6 separate regions of the Homo sapiens genome follow, and regions 2, 3, 4, 5 and 6 are each linked to region 1. Evidence: promoter capture Hi-C in 16 types of primary human blood cells and fetal thymus (Javierre and others, 2016). All regions are on one chromosome and are shown on one strand. Each heading gives the region's core, a stretch centred on a gene start or on the middle of the fragment in contact. The rest is flanking DNA. Distances are from core to core; before and after follow the strand shown. Region 1 holds the start of H4C13 (H4 clustered histone 13). Region 2 has its middle 16 kb from the start of TRS-GCT1-1. Region 3 has its middle 4.1 kb from the start of MIR3143. Region 4 has its middle 4.2 kb from the start of TRI-AAT5-2. Region 5 holds the start of TRV-CAC6-1 (tRNA-Val (anticodon CAC) 6-1). Region 6 has its middle 2.3 kb from the start of TRI-AAT3-1.

What was found. The method cuts DNA at HindIII sites, captures the fragments that hold promoters and counts their contacts. A CHiCAGO score of 5 or more calls a contact.
Region 2: a contact is called between a fragment that was not itself captured here and the fragment with the promoter of H4C13 in region 1, in 1 of 17 cell types (activated CD4 T cells). The highest score is 5.1, in activated CD4 T cells.
Region 3: a fragment that was not itself captured here is called in contact with the fragment with the promoter of H4C13 in region 1 in 17 of 17 cell types (non-activated CD4 T cells, naive CD8 T cells, naive CD4 T cells and 14 more); the score reaches 26.4 in non-activated CD4 T cells.
Region 4: a contact is called between a fragment that was not itself captured here and the fragment with the promoter of H4C13 in region 1, in 13 of 17 cell types (activated CD4 T cells, total B cells, monocytes and 10 more). The highest score is 14.0, in activated CD4 T cells.
Region 5: a contact is called between a fragment that was not itself captured here and the fragment with the promoter of H4C13 in region 1, in 1 of 17 cell types (total CD4 T cells). The highest score is 5.2, in total CD4 T cells.
Region 6: a fragment that was not itself captured here is called in contact with the fragment with the promoter of H4C13 in region 1 in 1 of 17 cell types (naive B cells); the score reaches 5.1 in naive B cells.

Annotation. Positions count from the first base shown.
Region 1 is chr6:27,872,017-27,875,170 of GRCh38, reverse strand. H4C13 (H4 clustered histone 13) reads left to right here and starts at 1,637. Exons shown (of 1, transcript NM_003546.3): 1 at 1,637-2,023. The coding sequence starts at 1,661. The coding sequence ends at 1,972. H3C11 (H3 clustered histone 11) reads left to right here and starts at 2,825. Exons shown (of 1, transcript NM_003533.3): 1 at 2,825-3,154. The coding sequence starts at 2,856. RefSeq lists enhancers at 1,357-1,406, 1,487-1,656, 1,957-2,006, 1,438-2,075. The HindIII fragment of the contact is 4,758 bases long and covers 1-2,567 here.
Region 2 is chr6:27,111,911-27,115,064 of GRCh38, reverse strand. No RefSeq gene overlaps it. Among named protein-coding and RNA genes, the nearest start is that of TRS-GCT1-1, 16 kb to the right of the region's middle. The HindIII fragment of the contact is 1,876 bases long and covers 713-2,588 here.
Region 3 is chr6:27,150,156-27,153,309 of GRCh38, reverse strand. No RefSeq gene overlaps it. Among named protein-coding and RNA genes, the nearest start is that of MIR3143, 4.1 kb to the right of the region's middle. The HindIII fragment of the contact is 8,294 bases long and covers 1-3,154 here.
Region 4 is chr6:27,179,960-27,183,113 of GRCh38, reverse strand. No RefSeq gene overlaps it. Among named protein-coding and RNA genes, the nearest start is that of TRI-AAT5-2, 4.2 kb to the right of the region's middle. The HindIII fragment of the contact is 7,682 bases long and covers 1-3,154 here.
Region 5 is chr6:27,203,392-27,206,545 of GRCh38, reverse strand. TRV-CAC6-1 (tRNA-Val (anticodon CAC) 6-1) reads left to right here and starts at 386; the gene lies at 386-458. The HindIII fragment of the contact is 2,480 bases long and covers 212-2,691 here.
Region 6 is chr6:27,276,001-27,279,154 of GRCh38, reverse strand. No RefSeq gene overlaps it. Among named protein-coding and RNA genes, the nearest start is that of TRI-AAT3-1, 2.3 kb to the right of the region's middle. RefSeq lists a silencer at 2,503-2,673. The HindIII fragment of the contact is 5,617 bases long and covers 1-3,154 here.

The DNA of each region.
Region 1 (3,154 bases), core at 388-2,887:
AAACGGCAAAACCCCGTCTCTACTAAAAATACAAAAATTAGCCGAGCGTAGTGGCGGGTGCCTTTAATCCCAGCTACTTAGGAGGCTAAGGCTGAAGAATCGCTTGAATCCGGGAGGCGGAGAATCGCTTGAACCCGTGAGGGGGAGATTGCAGTGAGCAGAGAACTCACCATTGCACTCCAGCCTGGGGTGACAAGACCAAAACTCTGTCAAAAAAAAAAAAAAAAAAAAAAAAAAAAGGAAAAAGAGGCCAGCCTAGCTCAGTGAGAAACTGATTAACTATTACAACATGAGTATGTAATGTTTTGCACATACAGTAATCATAGAGTAGTTCATAATGTACTTGCAGAGACTGATTTTTAGAATAAAATTAGATATTTGCTAAAGAGGTAAATAATCATACACATTTGAAATATAAAAGGTAAACATTACTGAGAAACGAAATCTGATAGCTGGAAGGCAGGGCAAGGCAGAGCCAGCCTAGGTCAGGAAGGTCACACAACATTTATTTGAAACTTTTTTTTGAGACGGACTCTTACTTTGTTGCCCAGGCTGGAGTGCATGGAGTGCAGGGGCTCGATCTTGGCTCACTGCAACCTCCGCCTTCTGCGTTCAAGCGATTTTCTTGCCTCAACCTCCTGAGTAGCTGGGATTATGGGCGCCCTCCACCACGCCAGGCCAATTTTCTTTATTTTTAGTAGAGAAGGGGTTTCGCCATCTTAGCCAGGCTGGTCTCGAACTCCTGACCTTGTGATCCACATGCATCGGCCTCCCTTCTGGCTGGGATTACAGGCGTGAGCCACCGCGTCCGGCCATTTGAAACTCTTTTTCTTGGAATAAAGTCATCCTCGGTCTTTTCCTCCTGCACTTTATTTGTAAATGTAAAAGACAGGGTTTCTGGGCACAGCTGATTTCCTAGTTCAACAGAAAAGAGGAACATGAGGGAGCTCAAGCGGCACCTTCACAATTCTAAGGAAATACAGGGTAAAAGCCACCTTTCTTTCTCAAACAGCTTCCTGAAGTGTTTCTAGGTGGAATGAGGAAAAAAAAATAGAAAGTTCTTGCCCCAAAAATGTGGTTGGCGAGGGAGAGAAAGGAACAGAAAGGACAGCTACAGAAAGAGTAAAATATAAGGAAAAGAATAGAGAACCAAATTTGAGAAAGGTGAGGAATCCCACCTTGGAGCTATCATCAGGCGTCGTCTTTTGCAGTCAGCCACTCCATAGGCTGATCACTTCGAGTTTGTACGGAAGCAGTTTCTACACGCTATTTCACAAATGCCCGAAACGACTGTGATTACCCCTCTAGAGATGGCGCCATTTGATTCCAGCAGCCACAAAGCACTAGAACAATCGATGCTAAGAGGTGACAGGAAAAACAGGCTGCAAAGACCCAGACAATGGAATGCAGCGGTGGTCAGCCTAAAACACTGTAGAAGGGCAAGATGAGCTGAGTAATTTTTAACTGGGCATCATTTTTAGAAACTGGAGTTTAAGTACCCCCTTTTCCATTTTTTCCTGAAGTCGTGGGCAGGGCGCAAGGTCTGTGAATCGGCCGACCGGATGCAGCTGGTGTGGAGAGTTCCCAATCAGGTCCGATTTATTACTATATAAAGTACTGCTGCGAGGCTTGCCGTGTTGCATTTTGTTTAGTACAAGACATGTCTGGGCGCGGCAAAGGCGGGAAGGGTCTGGGCAAAGGAGGCGCTAAGCGCCACCGCAAAGTTCTGCGCGACAACATTCAGGGCATCACCAAGCCCGCCATCCGACGCCTGGCACGGCGTGGAGGCGTTAAGCGCATCTCAGGCCTTATATACGAGGAGACACGCGGAGTTCTTAAAGTGTTTTTGGAGAATGTAATCCGCGATGCAGTTACCTACACGGAGCACGCCAAACGCAAGACAGTCACAGCCATGGACGTGGTTTACGCGCTCAAGCGCCAGGGCCGCACCCTGTATGGCTTTGGCGGCTGAGTGTTTTACTTACTTACACGGTTCCTCAAAGGCCCTTCTCAGGGCCACCCATGAAGTCTGTGAAAGAGCTGTAGACTAAAGATAGTTAATTTCTTAAGAACACTTAAACGTATGGCAGTTTTGGCAAATTAGCGATTCCACATAAGCAGTCGCTGAAGTTTGAGGTTCGGTGCCCCTTTCAGCATTACTTAGTGGTTAAAAGTGCCGGCTTCTCTGATACACGGCCAAATCTATAACGCCTCTCTGGTTTTTGCAAAAGTCATAATGAAACAGCCGGTCTCATTTATCTTGTATCGATTACTTTACCGCTACCAATGCGAGGGCTGTGTAACTATGACACTGTGGTCCGCAACGCCCAAAATGTTTTAATATCGCCCTTTACAGAAAAAGTCGGCCAACTTCTAAAACATTAAGTACGTTTAAATTTGAGAAATACTGGCATACCACAACGCTCGAATTTCATATCCCCTTCAATGCCTCCATTTACAAATTTACTCTAGTTTCACTTTTCCTTTACGTTCTTTAACTTTTTGTCAAATCAGTAATGACACCTCGTAATTAAAATAGTGCAAGGCAAGTTTAGATTTATCAAGCTTATATTTAAACAGGATTTTGATGCATGAAAAATCCTAGACTTTTGGGGGATTTTTTTTTGTTTCCGTTTTTGTTTTTCTTTAGCTAGCAAAACCATTTTACGTTTCTTGACCCAAAACAGAGGCGGAATGTCTCCCTTTCACTAGCAGATTAAACTGGGAGCCAATTCCGTGTGTGAGACGTGGCATGGCACAGTCTACTGTCCAATCAGAACGCGAGGGCAGCTATAAATACCGGGATGATCAGTTTTTTTCTCTCATTTGTGTTGAGTAGGTACGTCTACTTAGCCATGGCACGAACAAAGCAAACAGCTCGCAAGTCCACCGGCGGCAAAGCGCCGCGCAAGCAGCTGGCCACCAAGGCGGCTCGCAAGAGCGCTCCGGCCACCGGTGGCGTCAAGAAGCCCCACCGCTACCGCCCCGGCACCGTGGCCCTGCGCGAGATCCGCCGCTACCAGAAGTCGACCGAGCTGCTAATCCGGAAGCTACCTTTTCAGCGCTTGGTACGGGAGATCGCACAGGACTTTAAGACCGATCTGCGCTTCCAGAGCTCGGCGGTGATGGCGCTGCAGGAGGCTTGCGAGGCCTA
Region 2 (3,154 bases), core at 401-2,900, 760 kb after region 1:
TTCCTGTCTGTTCTACTGGTGGAGCATCCACTTTGCTGTACACTGCTATTCTGGGCTGTTCTGCCTGTGGGTTAGTTGTGCTTTCTGCAGCATCCACCTTGCTGTACACAGTTGCTGTAGGCTTCTCTGCCTATGGGTTAGCCTTGCTTTGTGGAGCACCCGCTTTGCTGTACTATGCTGCTACTCTGGGATGCTCTATGGGTGAGCCTTGCTCTGTGGAGCACCTATTATGCTGCATGCTGCTACTCTGGGCTGCTCTGCCTGTGCGTTAGCTTGTGCTGTGTGGAGCGCCCACTTTGCTGCATGCTGCTACTTGGCTGCTCTGCCTGTGGGTTAGCTTGTGCTCTGTGGAGCACCCACTTTTCTGTATACTACTACTACAGGCTGTGCTGCCTGTGGGTTAGCACACAGGTCGCCCTTTGTTTATGGAGCAGTTTGCTGTACACTATTGGTCTAGGAAGTGTTTTTAAATTAACTCTGAAGCCAAAAGCCCTCCAGGGTTAAGTCCCAATTTTGGGGTTCACCTGTGTCAGCCTGGTGACCCTGAAGGAAGGAACCATCAAAATGAAGAGACCATGAAGGGAGCATCAAGATGAGCGGGTTGACCATCAAGATAAAGTTTGGAGTTGTGATACTGTAATGCTATATACTAGCCAAAGGCTCTTTTCAGAGCCATGTTTTCTTGGTGACTAACTGGTTGTACACTGAAGCTTTGGAAACCTTTGCCTGGACCCAAATTAATGGCCAATTGGCACCATGTGGTTTCTGTGATTTCCCTGTCATATTGACCTTTCTGGGTAAACCAGGAAATGAAAGTGGGGCCTCCAGCTAGTCCCATGTTCAGATTATGTCCCCATTGCCCCGTTTTTGACCATCGTCTATTAAATCTCTAATGACTGGCTACTTGATATTACCATTCAGTTCCTAAATGCATGGTTGTATGTCAGAGCCATGTTCCTTCTAGGATTGGGTTAGAGTCCCACTCTAGGGGGAATTTATTGGGTTATTGTCAGTCCCACTCTACGTGGCGTTAGAATTGAGAGTCCTGCCCTAGGGGCTTTGTTTTTTGGTCACCTTTCTAAGATTGGGGTTTAAATTTCCACTAAGGGTTCTTAATTTGGTCAGCGTTTTTTTACTTCCATACTTAAAGTGCCTTCTTTGTAACATTCCATTAGCTAGTGATGGTAGTTGCCAGCCCACTGCCCACTCATCTTTCACTTTTGTGGCACCTACTTCTTGATACCCATGTTCTTTTGGCAGGAGTCAGTGGTAATTTCCCTACTGCTCTTGAAGAAAAGGGAGGTGGAAATTTGAAAGGAAAAGTAACTGGACTCTCTGGACTTGGAAGAATTTCTGGGTTTAGTAGGTATCTCTGGTAGACATAACAACAGTGAGCGTCCTGAAACACTTCCTGCTAGGGTGCCTTTTAGGCAACTAAAGCAAATTCAAATTTGATGTCTTAAAAACTCATCTTCTATTATAACAGTGTTTAGTACAAATTAATTTCCCAAGAAATTTGGCCTAAAAATGGTTCACTCTCCCTGGAGCCTCCTTGGTGCCTTAATATGAGGAAGGGGGTCCTGCCAGTTCTCCACTACAGGATTCCATCCCAAGTTCATCAGGCACCCCTCTGCTTTAACCAACTAGCTCCAGCCTATATGCCATACTGCCTGAGGAAATAAGTCCAACCAGTCTAATCAGGAGTGATAAAGTCCTATCAGCCCTTAAAATCAAACTTACATCTATTGTGAGAGGTTGAGACGTTGCTAATGGCGGGAACAGTACTTGTGCCTTTTTCCATGTCTGATTTAGCTTCATGCAAGGGAAACATTGGCTGGTATCAGAGGATCCAGGGAAGTTTATAGTTTGATGTAACTTGGCATGACTTGCAAATAGTGTCCACCTGCTGTGCTGTAGAGGAGAAACAAGGGATTTTTGAATACTGCCTGGGCATATGCTGATGGAATGGCTGCTTGTAACCAGGATCATGCCATTTATTGTATGTGGGAGTGTACTTCCAGATTTGGACCCCCATGGGATTACCAGAGGGGTTCCTGAGATCTCAAATGTAGAAATCATAGGTAACTTGTTTAATAGAAGATATGAAAGTGTGCTTAATCCAGTTAATTATGACAAGGTTAGAGAAGTAACTGTAGGGGAGGATAAAAATCCTATTCTAGTCAGGGCTGTTTGGTTGAGGCACTCAGGAAATATTGCAGGACAGACTCCCCAGAAAGGCAAACTCTTTTATCACTCAGTCTGTCCTTGATGTTAGGAGGAAGCTATAACAGGCAGAAAGGGGAAACGCAAACTCCTATAAGCCAATTTTTAAATATGGCCTTTCCAGTTTACAACAATAGGCACAGGTCAAAACAGGCAGAGATAACCAAAAGAAATAATATCCAAAATGCAATTGTTAGTGACTACTTTAAGCACCCTCTCCCACCTCAGGGTTAGCCAGCCTGAGGAGATTTGAGATCAGCATCTCAGATGCCCAGATGAGAGCCCCGAACTTGCTGGCCCCAGGGCCAATATCACTGTGCCTTCTGTAAGCAAGAGGGCCATTGAAAAAGGGACTGTTCCAAGCTTCAAAGGGAGCCTAGGCTACCCAAACCCATAATGGCCAAGAAAACAAGACTGACCGGGCCCAAGGTCCCCCACAGCTCCCACTGGACACCTTACCATCTCCATGGAAGAGGCTTAGGTAACTTTTGAAGTGGCAAATAAAAATATTTAGTTAAAATGTGTTCTTATTGAGATAATAATTTTGTCAAATTCAGAAACTATATAAAGGTTGATTCAAATTATGGATTAGAAAAGGCTATGAAATAAGGAATCTATAAGTAGGAGAGAGATGTGAAGAAAGTTATGGATGTGGAGATGTATTTTTGGTAAGGAAGGTCATAAAGAATGATTGTATAAAGGAAGGTTATAAAGAAAAGAGCATAACTGTATATGAAAAAGGATCTTCAATTTTAAAAAATCAATATGAGAGGACTATTGCAGTATGAAAAGAAAATCTTATATGGTAAACTCTTGTTCTAGAGTCAAATTACTAGGTATTTAAGGAAGAGGTAGTATAGGACAAGTCAGAAAGTCCAAGCATATCACAGATGGTCTTTGTAAGTTGTGACAAGGTTTGTGAAGGGGAATA
Region 3 (3,154 bases), core at 168-2,667, 720 kb after region 1:
TCTGTCACCCAGGCTGGAGTGCAGTGGTGCAATCTTGGCTCACTACAACCTCTGCCTCCTAGGTTCAAGCGATTCTTCTGCCTCAGCCTCCCAAGTAGCTGGGATTACAGGCGGCCACCACCATGCCCAGCTAATTTTTGTATTTTTAGTAGAGACGGGGTTTCACCATGTTGGCCAGGATGGTCTTGATATCCTGACCTTGTGATATGCCCACCTCGGCCTCCCAAAGTGCTGGGATTACAGGCGTGAGCCACCGTGCCCGGCCCACTGTCCCCTTCTTTCATCCTGTGTCCCTAGGAGGCTGATCTATACATGAATTTGATCCTTGTCCTTTGGCTGCTGGTCAAATTTGGCTGATGAAAAGTGAAAATATGTCAGAGAGAGGAAGGAGTTCTTTCTGTTTCCAGATTTCCTTTCCTCTCATTGCCCCTTTGGGCCTAGGTGTGGTAATTACTTATATATGGTATTAGCTTCAAAATACTGCACTATCTCTTGTGGCTTCCTAACACCTTGCTCACTTCTTTTTCAATCTTCAAGCACCCAATTGGTTGTTGTTGTTGTTGTTGTTGTTTGTTTGTTTTTTGAGACGGAGTCTTGCTCTGTCACCCAGGCTGGAGTGCAGTGGTGCAATCTCAGCTCACTGCAACCTCCGCCTCCTGGGTTCAAGGTCCTGCCTCAGTCTCCTGAGTAGCTGGGATTACAGGTGCCCACCACCACGCCTGGCTAATTTTTTTGTATTTTTAGTAGAGACGGGGTTTCACCATGTTGGCCAGGCTGGCCTCGAACTCTGGACCTCAAGTGATCTGCCCGCCTCGGCCTCCCAAAATGTTGGGGTTACAGGCATGAGTCACTGCATCAGGCCCAAAGTACCCAATTTGAAGGACTAATCTCTCCTGATGGGACACTGGCTGACATATTGACCTCTTTTAGCTTATATGCTGCTGTGTTTACAGATATTAAATGAAAATACAAATAAGATATTTACTTTCAAAATATAGTCATTGACATGGAGTTTAAACCCATAAGAACAGATGATCTTAGCCAAAAGGCTGAAAACACTTGGTCTTAGCCAAAAGGCTGAGAAGCGGTGATGATGTGGAGTTTAAGAACCTGATCTGGGCTGGGCGCGGAAGATCACGCCTCTAATCCCAGCACTTTGGGAGGCTGAGGCCGGCAGATCACGAGGTCAGGAGATTGAGACTGTCCTGGCTAACACAGTGAAACCCCATCTGTAGAAAAAATACAAAAAACCTAGCAGGGAGCGGTGGCACGCGCCTGTAATCCCAGCTACTTGGGAGGCTGAGGTAGGAGAATCACTTGAACCCAGGAGGCGGAGGTTGCAGTGAGCGAAGATCGCGCCACTGCACTCCAGCCTGGACTACCGAGCAAGACTCCGTCTCAAAAAAATAAAAAAAGAACTTGATCTGGTAAACCCAGAAGGCATAACGAGAACTAAGAATAAGAGAATACCTCATTGAGGAGGTGCCATATTATGAAAATTGAAGAATGAATAGGAGTTACCCAAGGAGAGGCTGGTAGGACAAACACTCTGGGCTTGGGAAATCGCAAGTGCAAAGCTACAGGAGTACCAGATAGAATCAGACAGACCAATCCCTGAATACACTTTCTAATTCCAGTCCGTTAATTTTATTAAATCTTACAGCTTCAAGTAAATTAGAAAATGCACTGGTTTCTTCAAAAATGGCAATTTTGCTGTGAATAGAAAAAAGTTAGCAATTCTGCTGTGAATAAAGTTAGCTTTTAATAAGTCAAGCAATATCAACGTACACCAGCAATTTTACCTCCTTTTTTTTTTTTTTTTTTTTTTTTTGGTGTTTTCCTTTGTGTGATTCCAAGGCATATTTGGGATCTCAAGTTGATTTACTGATGGCCAGTTCTGAGTCCAGATACCAGTCAGCCTTGTAAACAATCACTATTCCTCCCAGGTGTTTACTATTACACATAGAATCTAGCTTCCCAGGTAAGTGAAGCCATGTCAATAGTTAGCCTGATATAAAATTATATTATTCCGTCTTTAGTTAAGCACCCTTCATTATCCATAATCACATATATTTCCCATATTTTGTCATTGTTAATTATTTAAATCATGCAGCTCCTCTGGGGTATAAACCTTCACATATTTTTAGATGTGACTTTACTATTTTGATTTTCTCAGAATTATTCCTTACAAGGAATGCATGACAACGACTCCATCTGTAATAGGTATGAAGATGAGGGGGAAGGGCGGAACTGAGGAAAAGCATGTATGTATGCATTTTAAAAATTGTGTGTGTTTTAAAAATATATTTTTTTAAAGTATATATTTTAAGTGTGATTCCCATTTTCAGGAATCTTTAGCTATTCACTTTAAACTATTGTAAACACTGTTTGAATAATTAAGTCTAGTTTTATTCTTTCTCATTTGGTATCTATTAATTCAGATATGATCATGATACTCTTCTGGTAGAACCTTTCAACATCTCCCTTTAACAATTCTTACCCAAGTTTCTATATACCTTAGACTAAAGCACATGAGACCAGATAGTTAAGAGAAGGCAGTTATGTGTGTGTTCCATGTTGAGTAGATAATATTCTGATAGCTTTTTCTCCTACTAATTGAGAATCTGATTGGATAAGTAACACCACACTTTCTTTTCCAAATTAGAGTCCAAACAATACCCACCTCAAAAGGTTGTGAGAAATAAATAAGCACATTCATATTGCATATGTAGCCCATAAGTGGTCGGCACCAAATATCTCTTATAGGTGTTTTTTTTTTTTTTTTTTTTTTTTTTGAGCTGGAGTCTCACTCTGTCACCCAGGCTGGAGTACAGTGGCACAATCTCGGCTCACTGCAACCTCCGCCTTCCGGGCTCAAGCAATTCTCCTGCCTCAGCCTCCCAAGTAGCTGGGACTATAGGCAGCTGCCACCACGCCCGGCTAAGTTTTTGTGTTGGGATTACAGGCATGAACCACCGCACCCAGCCTAAAATGTGTTTCCACCTGGTTTCGAACCAGGGACCTTTCACGTGTGAGACTAACGTGATAACCACCATACTACAGAAACTCATTCCATGGTTTTTTTAAAGGTTTCCTCTCCTCTCTTTTGAGCCTCAAATATTCATTCTGAAGTTTCTTCAGTATGGGGCAAAGC
Region 4 (3,154 bases), core at 210-2,709, 690 kb after region 1:
GAAGATTTTCTAGCACTTGCATAATTAATTCCTTGTGGGCCAAATCTTGGCCCTTACTATTGATGAGGCCTCGTTCAGTCCAGATCTTTTCCGAAGGCATACTTGGAGTAAGTGTAAATAGTTCCTTCCTGATTCTGCAGGGATTTTAAGGCTTGGTTTAATGCAAAGAGTTCACATATTTGGGCAGACCACTTATTTGGCAGTCTTTCTGACTCTACCACTGTGAGGGTTTCCCTATCAACTATGGAGTACCCGTTGTGCCTTTTTCCTTCAATGACCTGGGAGGAGCCGTCTATAAAGAGGTGATGCCCTGTTTGGAAGGGGGTTTCATGCCTGGATGCGGTCTGACTCTAGTTTGAAAACTGATTAGATCTAAGCAGTTATGCTCACATTCCTCCTGGTTTGGATTTCCTGTTAGGAAAGCAGCGGGGTTGAGTGAATTGTCAGTGGTTAGTGTTAGGTTATCTCCCTCTAATAAGATAGCTTCATATTTTAAAATCCTTGAGTCAGTGAGCCATCTCCCTGCCTTCTGATTAAGAATGGTTCTGACTTGATGAGGGGCACTTACGAAGAGGTTTCCCCCAAAGGTTATTTTCCTGCTTTCTTCTGTTAGCAAGGCAGTTGCTGCTATGGATTGAACACATTCGGGCCATCCACGGGTTACTGGGTCAAGGATTTTTGACAGAAAGACTACAGGCTGCCGGTGGCCTCCATGTTTTTGGGTGAGTACCCCTAAGGCCACTCCTTTGCTTACATTAATGAAAAGATGGAATGGCTGTTCTAAGGAGGGCAAAGTTAGAACAGGGGCAGTTACAAGTAGGTGTTTTAATTCTTTTACCGTTGGATCTCTGATGGGGTCCAAAGGAGGGGGTCTGGTCCTTCTTGAGTGAGTTTTTGATATAGGGGCTTTGTTTTTAAGGCATAAGAGTCAGTCCACAGATGACAATATCCAACCAATCCTAATAATTTCCTAAGTTCCTGCTTTGTTTCAGGTAAAGGCAAAGACAGGATACCTTCAATTCGTTCGGATCCTATCTTTCGTTCACCTTTACTGATTAGGTGTCCTAGATATTTTACCTCAGATTCTATGAATTGGATGTTGTTCTTTGAGACCCGTAATCCTTGTCCCCTTAGGAAATTTAGGAAGTTAACTGAAATTGCTGTTACTTGATCCTTGTTATCTCCTGAAATGAGCAGGACATCTACGTATTTGAGTAGGCATATGGATGAAGGCAGGGAGAAGTTTTCTAGGACTTGCTCTAAAATATGACCAAATAGATTTGGGGACTCTGTAAACCTTGGGGCAAGACTGTCCATCGACCGGAGTGAGGGTCCTCTCACTCAAAGGCAAATTTGTCCCAGCTGTCCTCTGCTAAAGGGCAAGCCCAAAAGGCATCATTTAAATCTGTCACCGTGAACCATTGGTGGTTATGCGGGATTCTACTGAAAATGGTGTAAGGATTGGGAACAACAGGGTGGATGGTCTGAACTATTTGGTAAATAGCCCAGAGGTCTTGCACTAGCTGGTATGACCCGTCTGACTTCCTTACAGGCAATATTGGAGTGTTATAAGGGGACATACAGGGTTCAAGTCTTTCAATTACAGGTTTTAAAACTATCCTGGTTTTAAACCTATCCTGGCTTCCAAGGGAATAGGGTATTGTTTTCGTGGACAAGGCTTTCAATTATAGGTTATAAACCTATCCTGGCTTCCAAGGGAATAGGGTATTGTTTTTGTTTCACTATTTCCCCAGGAGTTTTTAATTTGACATGGATTGGAGGAACCCATCCTCGATTCCCTTCTTTCGACCATACGTTGGGATGGATGCGGCTTTCTTCTGAAGTGGTGAGTACGTTTAAGGAAGTAAGGAGTTTTCCTTGATTAACATATAGGCCTGTGCCTAACCTTAACATTAAGTCCCTTCCTAATAAATTAGTTCCTGCTTCAGGAATTAAGAAGAACTTAGTAGCAACCGACTTATTCTTATATTTGACTTCGGTTTCCTCTAGAATTTTTGCTCTGAATCCTTCCCCTTTAACTCCTGAGACAGTAAGGTCTTCGGCTGAACAGGATAAATCTGATGGGAGAAAACATAGGCAGGAGCCAGCTGCTCCCGAATTGACCAGGAAAGTGACTATTTCCAATTTGGGTCCCACCGTTAAATTTATCAAGGGCTCTTGGTGGGACTCAAGATGGAAGACGTAGAGCCCCTGAGCCCACTGTTCTTCAAATGTCATGAGTGAAAGGACTTTCTTTTCCCTCTCCCATTCGGGACATTTCCTCTTAAAATGTCCTGGCTTTCCACATCTGAAACATCTGTTTTTCCTTCTCCCCCTCCTGGTTCCCTGATTCTCAGGTTTCGTCCCTTTGCTTCCTGTATAGGGTCTGGCAGCCTGGTACTCAGAAGGTTTACAAGTTCTATTTCCCTGGGATGCCTGTTGAAAAGTTCCCTGTTGTAGGGTGGACAGCATAATTTTTGCCTTTTGCTTCTGCCTTTCCTCATCCCTCCGTACATATACCTTTTGGACCTCTCTTTAAAGTTCCTCTATGGGACAGTCTTTCTAATTTTCTATCTTTTATAATTTCTTTATAGTGTCTGGCCAACTATTGGTGACAAAGTGGAGCTTTAACATCCTTTGTCCTAGTGGGTCCTCTATGTCCAAACCTGCGTATTTTCTTATCTGTTCCTTAAGTCTGTTTAAGAATTCCATGGGCCCTTCATCTTTCTCTTGCTGTACATTAAATGCTTGGGAAATGTTTTGGGTTGGAGGAACTGATTCCTGAATCCCTTTAATTATCATATCCCTATCTCTCATGTTTTCCCGGTGAGCCGCACTGTTGTTATCCCATTGAGGGTCCTGGGCCGGGAATTTATGCTCTGCTGCAAGGACATTCTGACGAGGGGGGTGCTTGCGCTCCCAGGCTATCATAGCAGCCTTGCAGATCATGGTTCTTTCCTCTCCTAAGAAGAGAATACCTAGAATAGACATCAATTCAGCCCAGGTATACAGTTGTGGCCCCATAAATTGGTCAATTTGATCTGAGACTCCAAAAGGGTCATCTAACAGTGGTTTGAGTCTCCTTTTTAGATTTCTAACTTCTTCACTAGCTAAGGGGGGCATTTACGAAGCCAATATCCCCTCCTCCTAGTGG
Region 5 (3,154 bases), core at 202-2,701, 670 kb after region 1:
AAGTGCTGATGGCCTCCAATCATCTCCTGGTCTCAGGTCGCTCCTTCATGGTTTTCCCAAAAGTCACCAAGATATGACTATCGGGGCGGGTTTTGCAGATAAAGAAACGTGCATAGACAGCATAGGGAGGTCTTGAAATAAAATTCTGTAGCATTCCGTTCTAGCTTTCCATGTTTGAAATTTGTGCGGGAATTGGAGCCCTGGGGAAGCTTGGTTATGAATTGCTTTTCTTTTCGAAAACAGTAAAAGGAGAGAACTGCACCACAACGATCATTTTCTAAACAGACGTATAAGGCAGTCCAGGCCCTTCAGGCAAAGCCCTCTTAGTTAAGCGGCGGGGTGGGGATGGGGGCGGGGGGGATGTGGGTAACCCTTTCCCACAGTTGTTTCCGTAGTGGAGTGGTTATCACGTTCGCCTCACACGCGAAAGGTCCCCGGTTTGAAACCAGGCGGAAACATTCTTTACTCGTTTGGTAGATTTTCTACTCCATAAAAATATAAATGTTTAAGAAAAATCAAACTGATAAATTTGCCAGACTTTGAAAACAGGAGCTCTCCCTGAGAAGCTCTCGCAGCCACGTGGTTTCGCCACTGTAAAAGAGCTTTCCCCCTCTCCCTGTCACTTCTGCGGGGTTTCCTCTAGGTCTAAAAGGGGTCCTTGGAAGAGTGTAAGAGAAAGGAACCGGGCCACGGGCATGGTTGTTACTTACTTTCGGAATCTGGATTTCTTTGAAATGCAAGAACAGCTCCGCCTTTAAACCAAGTGGCGACTACCCGGGCGTCCGGCAGTGACATTAGCCGGGCAATTCATCTCTTGCTGGATAAATATTTTCAACCAAAATTTACTTACCACCTGCATGGTGAGAGGGGAATGTTGCAGTGGGTGGGAGAGTGCTGGAGGATAATGCAAAGCACCTGTCCTTAAGAACTGACAAGGACCTCGGGCAGGTAACAAGAATCCTGTTAAGTCTGTTTAGCCGGAATGCCCCTTATCCTTGATGCTGCCTCTTAGCCCAGGACGCAGGTGGCAGCGGGCTGCGATCTGAGGCTCTTCGGTTAAGGACACTTATTAAATCATGGTAAGAGAGACTTTATTCAGGACCACCATGGTAGGTAATAGGGTCCACAAAGGAGTCTTGCAGTAGAGAAGAGATTGGGCTCAACTCTGAATACTGCATGGACAAGTGGGAATTTATAGCCAAGGATCGGGGTGGTGGGTGGTCAGTGGATGGAAAATTACTAAGAGGAAGCATCAGGGGTAAGGGGATTCTGGCTGAACAGACCTAACAGGATTCTTGCTGAAGACAGGCCAGGGCCATCAGACCTTACCTGGGGGATGGTGGAGGATGAGGAACCTGATCAGCTATGGAGGGGGAGCAGATATCAAGGGTAGGGGATTGTTGTTAAACTGATTTATCAGGGTTCTTGCTAAAACTGGTTTTACAAGGAAGAACACAGATGGGCCCTGGAGACAGTTCAGGAGCCTGACTAAAGTTTGACCAAACAAATAATCTTTGTCAACCTCCACAGTTGTGTGAACCTATGCCTTAAAATAAATATCTTTCTGTATATACACACCTCCTATTGGTTCTGTTTCTCTGGAGAACCCTGATTAATACAACTGTTACTATTTTTTAAAAGTAGCTCTTCAAGAGATAGTAAAGATCACCCAATTCAATTTCAACAGCAGCATTCCAATCTAAGTGGTTTAAAAGAAGTTTCAGCCGGGTGCCTTGGCTCACGCCTGTAATCCCAGCACTTTGGGAGGCCCAGGTGGGTGGATTACCTGAGGCCAGGAGTTGGAGACCAGCCTGACCAACATGGTGAAACTCTGTCTCTACTAAAAATACAAAAAATCAGCCAAGCGTCATGGTGCGTGCCTGTAATCCTAGCTACTCAGGATGCTGAGGCAGGAGAATCGCATGAACCTGAGGGGCAGAGGTTGCAATGAGCCGAGATCACACCACTACACTCTTTAGCCTGGGTGACAGAGCAAGACGCTGTCTCAAAAAAAAAAAAAAAAGAAAAAGAGTTTCGATCCTGCAATTTTATGAGAAGAGGGTCCTATGAAGAAGACTATGACAAGTATCAGAGGAATAGAAAGAAAGTCAGGACAACTGATATTGCAGAAGCCAAAGGAGTAGTTCTGGAATAAACAATAGTAGAGGTAATTCAAGCAAGTGATCAGAAATGCAAACACTACATAGGAATTTGTGGCAAAAAGCTCTGGAAATATAGTTATGAATAAAACAGAGTTCCTGTTTTGGGGAGCTTTCTTGCAACCACCAAGTAAATAACTAAATAAGATAATTCAGATGATGGGGTTCAGAACATGCTACCCCGAGATATGACATCTTGACATTTGACAAAACCACAGAAGCAAGTAGGTCACTCTCACTTTTCCGTAGCCCTTCTCCCCTAAAGCAGGTCAGGAGATCTTCATTCCAGAGGTGCCCTTCCTATAACTGGAGGAAAGGAACATGTTTTTCTCTGAAGACACAGGGACACACAGAAGAACCTGAACAAGTAAGCCTTGCTAAATTCCCCCAGTTTATTATCCTTACATCACACCCTCTTTGTACAATTATACTTCTGCATAACTATCTTCTCTTCGTCAACCTATCATAAAACTACAAATGTTTCCCTGTTTCTTTAGGTCTTCATTTCTAGTCTCTCATATCACACAAAGCTTATGTTAAATACACTTGTATGCTTTTCTCTTGTTTAATCTGTATTTTGTTATAGAGGCCTCAGCCATGAACTTGGTGAGAAAAGATGTTTTTCTCCCTTGCTTAGGCCATAAGGATAATGTTTAAAAAACAGATAGCTTGCAGAGGATGAAGTTTAGCCGTCTTTCTTTCTGGCAGCTGTATACTAACTTTGCAGGATGAAGGAAGAGTGGGCTTCCTTTGCTAAATGACTCTGTGGGCTTATTAAAAATGTTTTAAGGCCGGGCACGGTGGCTTACGCCTGTAATCCCAGCAATTTGGGAGGCTGAGGTCAGGATCACCTGAGGTCAGGAGTTCAAGATCAGCCTGGCTGGCCAGCATGATGAAACCTCGTCTCTACTTAAAATACAAAAATTAGCTGGATGTGGTGGTAGATGCCTGTAATCCCAGCTACTCAGGAGGCTGAGGCAAAAGAATTGCTTGAA
Region 6 (3,154 bases), core at 262-2,761, 600 kb after region 1:
AAGCCACGTCTATGAGTGGGTACAATGACCCAGCTCCTTTTCCCCAATTCAGGACATTTCTAAAGGATCATTGTAGCTCCAGAGCTCCCCATGGGAATGGTTGAGTCCTCTTTTGTATATCATTCCTGGATACACAATAGACTTCCTTCATGAAAACTATATCCTGGAGTCTGTTTCTCATAGAATACAATAACCTAATGCAATCTTTTTTTTTTTTTTTTTTTTTTTTTTGAGACGAAGTCTCGCTCTGTCGCCCAGGCTGGAGTGCAGTGGCTCGATCTCGGCTCACTGCAAGCTCTGCCTCCCGGGTTCACGCCAGTCTCCTGCCTCAGCCTCCCGAGTAGCTGGGACTACAGGCGCCTGCCACCACGCCTACCTAATTTTTTGTATTTTTAGTAGAGACGGGGTTTCACCATGTTAGCCAGGATGGTCTCAATCTCCTGACCTCGTGATCAGCCCGCCTCGGCCTCCCAAAGTGCTGGGATTACAGGCGTGAGCCACCGCGCCCGGCTAATGCAATCTGAATATAAAACCGAATATAGTCCCCTATAGTCTATTTACAAAAGACCTACTAAAAGCAGTATTTTAAAGCATGTATCAGATTTGCCTCTCCTAAAATCAGAATTATACAATAGCTTCCCGTTCTACTTGAATTAAAGCCAAATTCCTAAGATCTCCTACAAGATCCTATATACTCCGATCCTTCATTTCTCTCTGATCTCATCTCTATTACTGTCTCCCTCTCTTGTACTCTGGCCACATGAACCCTTTTACTGTTCCTCAAACATTCCATGCAAGTACCCACCTTTAGACTTTTATAGTGGTTGTACTCTGCTTGTGACACCTCACATGTCAGGTGGCTTGATTGCTCCTTTTCTTCCAGTCACAATCTTATTAAGGCTATACTAACAACTCTAGCTTTCCAACCTACTCTCATCACTCCAGTTCTTCCTACCTGCCTCTATTTACCAATCACATTTAACACCTTCTTACACATTTTATAATTCACATTTTTATTATGTTTGTTATTTATATCTGTTTCCATACTCTATGAGGGCAGATATTTCATTGGCCCGGTACTAGTGATGTGTTGCTATAGTTCCCTGATGCCTGTCAAGTGTCTAGAACTGGACCTGTGCGGTTGTTACACAAAGTTAAAGAGATCTTTTTAAAACGTGAATCTGGCTGGGCGCGGTGGCTCTCACCTGTAATCCCGGCACTTTGGGAGGCCGAGGCGGGTGGAACATTTGAGGTCAGGAGTTCCAGACCAGTCTGGCCAACATGGCGAAATTCCGTCTCTACTAAAAATACGAAAAAAAAAAAAATGGCTGAGTGTGGTGGCGCATGCCTGTAATCCCAGCTACTGAGGAGCCTGAGGCAGGAGAATCGCTTGAACCCGGGAGGTGGAGGTTGCAGTGAGCTGAGATCGCTCCACTGTACTCCAGCCTGGGAGACAGAGTCAGACTCCGTCTCAAAAATAAATAATAAACAAATTTTAAAAATGTGAATCCGTCCATGTGACTTTTCTGCCTAAAATCCTTGCATAGTTTCCCATTGTTGTTAAGACCAATTCAAAAATCCTTAACTTGGCCTATAGTGATCATAGTTCTTAGTTTAGACTTAATGTAGATCAATTAACACCTGATAATTCCTTTTTTATTTTTATTTATTTATTTTAGACGGAGTCCTGCTCTGTCGCCCAGGCTAGAGTGCAGTGGCGCTATCTTGGCTCACTGCAAGCTCCGCCTCCCAGGTTCACGTCATTCTCCTGCCTCAGCCTCCCGAGTAGCTGGGACTACAGGCGCCCGCCACCAAGCCCAGCTAATTTTTGCATTTTTAGTAGAGATGGCGTTTCACCATGTTAGCCAGGCTGGCCTCTAACTCCTGACCTCAGGTGATCCTCCCACCTCGGCCTCCCAAAGTGCTGGGATTACAGGCGTGAGCCACCGCGCCCGGCCAATTTATTTTTAGTGCCCCATCCACTTACCATCAAGTATTCTGATTCATTTATAGTAATCTACTAGAGGGTTTTGCATCATGTATTGATAAATGTTCTTTCTTCCTCAGACTTCATCTCCTACTACTCGCCCTGTACCACTCTGCAGCTCAGTCTTAATCTCCAGACAGAATGACGTGTCTTAGTTCCTGTCCCTCAGGTGTTTCTGCCCGTGTTGTACTCTCCTAGGTGCACAAAATAAGGCCACTGTTGGCTCCTTCTCCGTGCTGTCCCCTCAGCCCCTTCCTTCTCCCGCCTGATTCTATCACATTCCCTTTACGTCATTACTTGTACCCCCAAAACAATGTTCCAGAATCTAGTATGCCCCAACTAGACAATCTACATACCGATTGCCTAGTTTCGCTTCGAATTTGTAGCAGGGAATTCAGGAAGAAGGTGTAGAAATGTGTCCAGGATTGGCCGGGCGCAGTGGCTCACGCCTGTAATCCCAGCACTTTGGGAGGCCAAGGGGGCGGATAACCTGAGGTCAGGAGTTCGAGAACAGCCTGGGCAACACGGTGAAACCCCGTCTGTACTAAAAGTACAAAATTAGCCGGGAGTGGTGACACATGCCTGTAATCCCAGCTACTCGGGAGCCTGAGGCAGGAGAATCGCTTGAACCTGGGAGGCAGTGAGCCGAGATCGCGCCATTGCACTCCAGCCTGAGCAACAAAAGTAAATCTCCGTCTCACCGGAAAAAAAAAAAGCAAAAGAAAAGAAATGTGTTCAGGATCATATTAGTGCTAAGTATAGTTAAAACAAACAAGCAAGCAAAAAGAGTATTGGGATCAACCCTCTAAAGCACAGTGTGACAATGGCCATCAAAATTGCCAATGTACATGTTCTTTGATGCAGCCTTTCCACATGTGCGAAGTATCATGGCATACATCAGATACGGTGTATGCTCATAGATACCAAAAATTTGCAATAGGAGGATGGAAGTCTAAGCTATGCCTATTAAACTATGGTATATACTCATATAGCTGAATACTATGCATATTTAAAAGAGAATGAACACTTTTCTGTTGTGATATGAAAGAATTGCAAAAATATATTCTGAGTTAAAAAAAAAGCAAAGGATTTAAAAAGTAGATAAAATGCCACTATTTGTGAAGAGAAAAAAGAAAACATTTGTTTAACTTTGGCTATGCGTTAAAA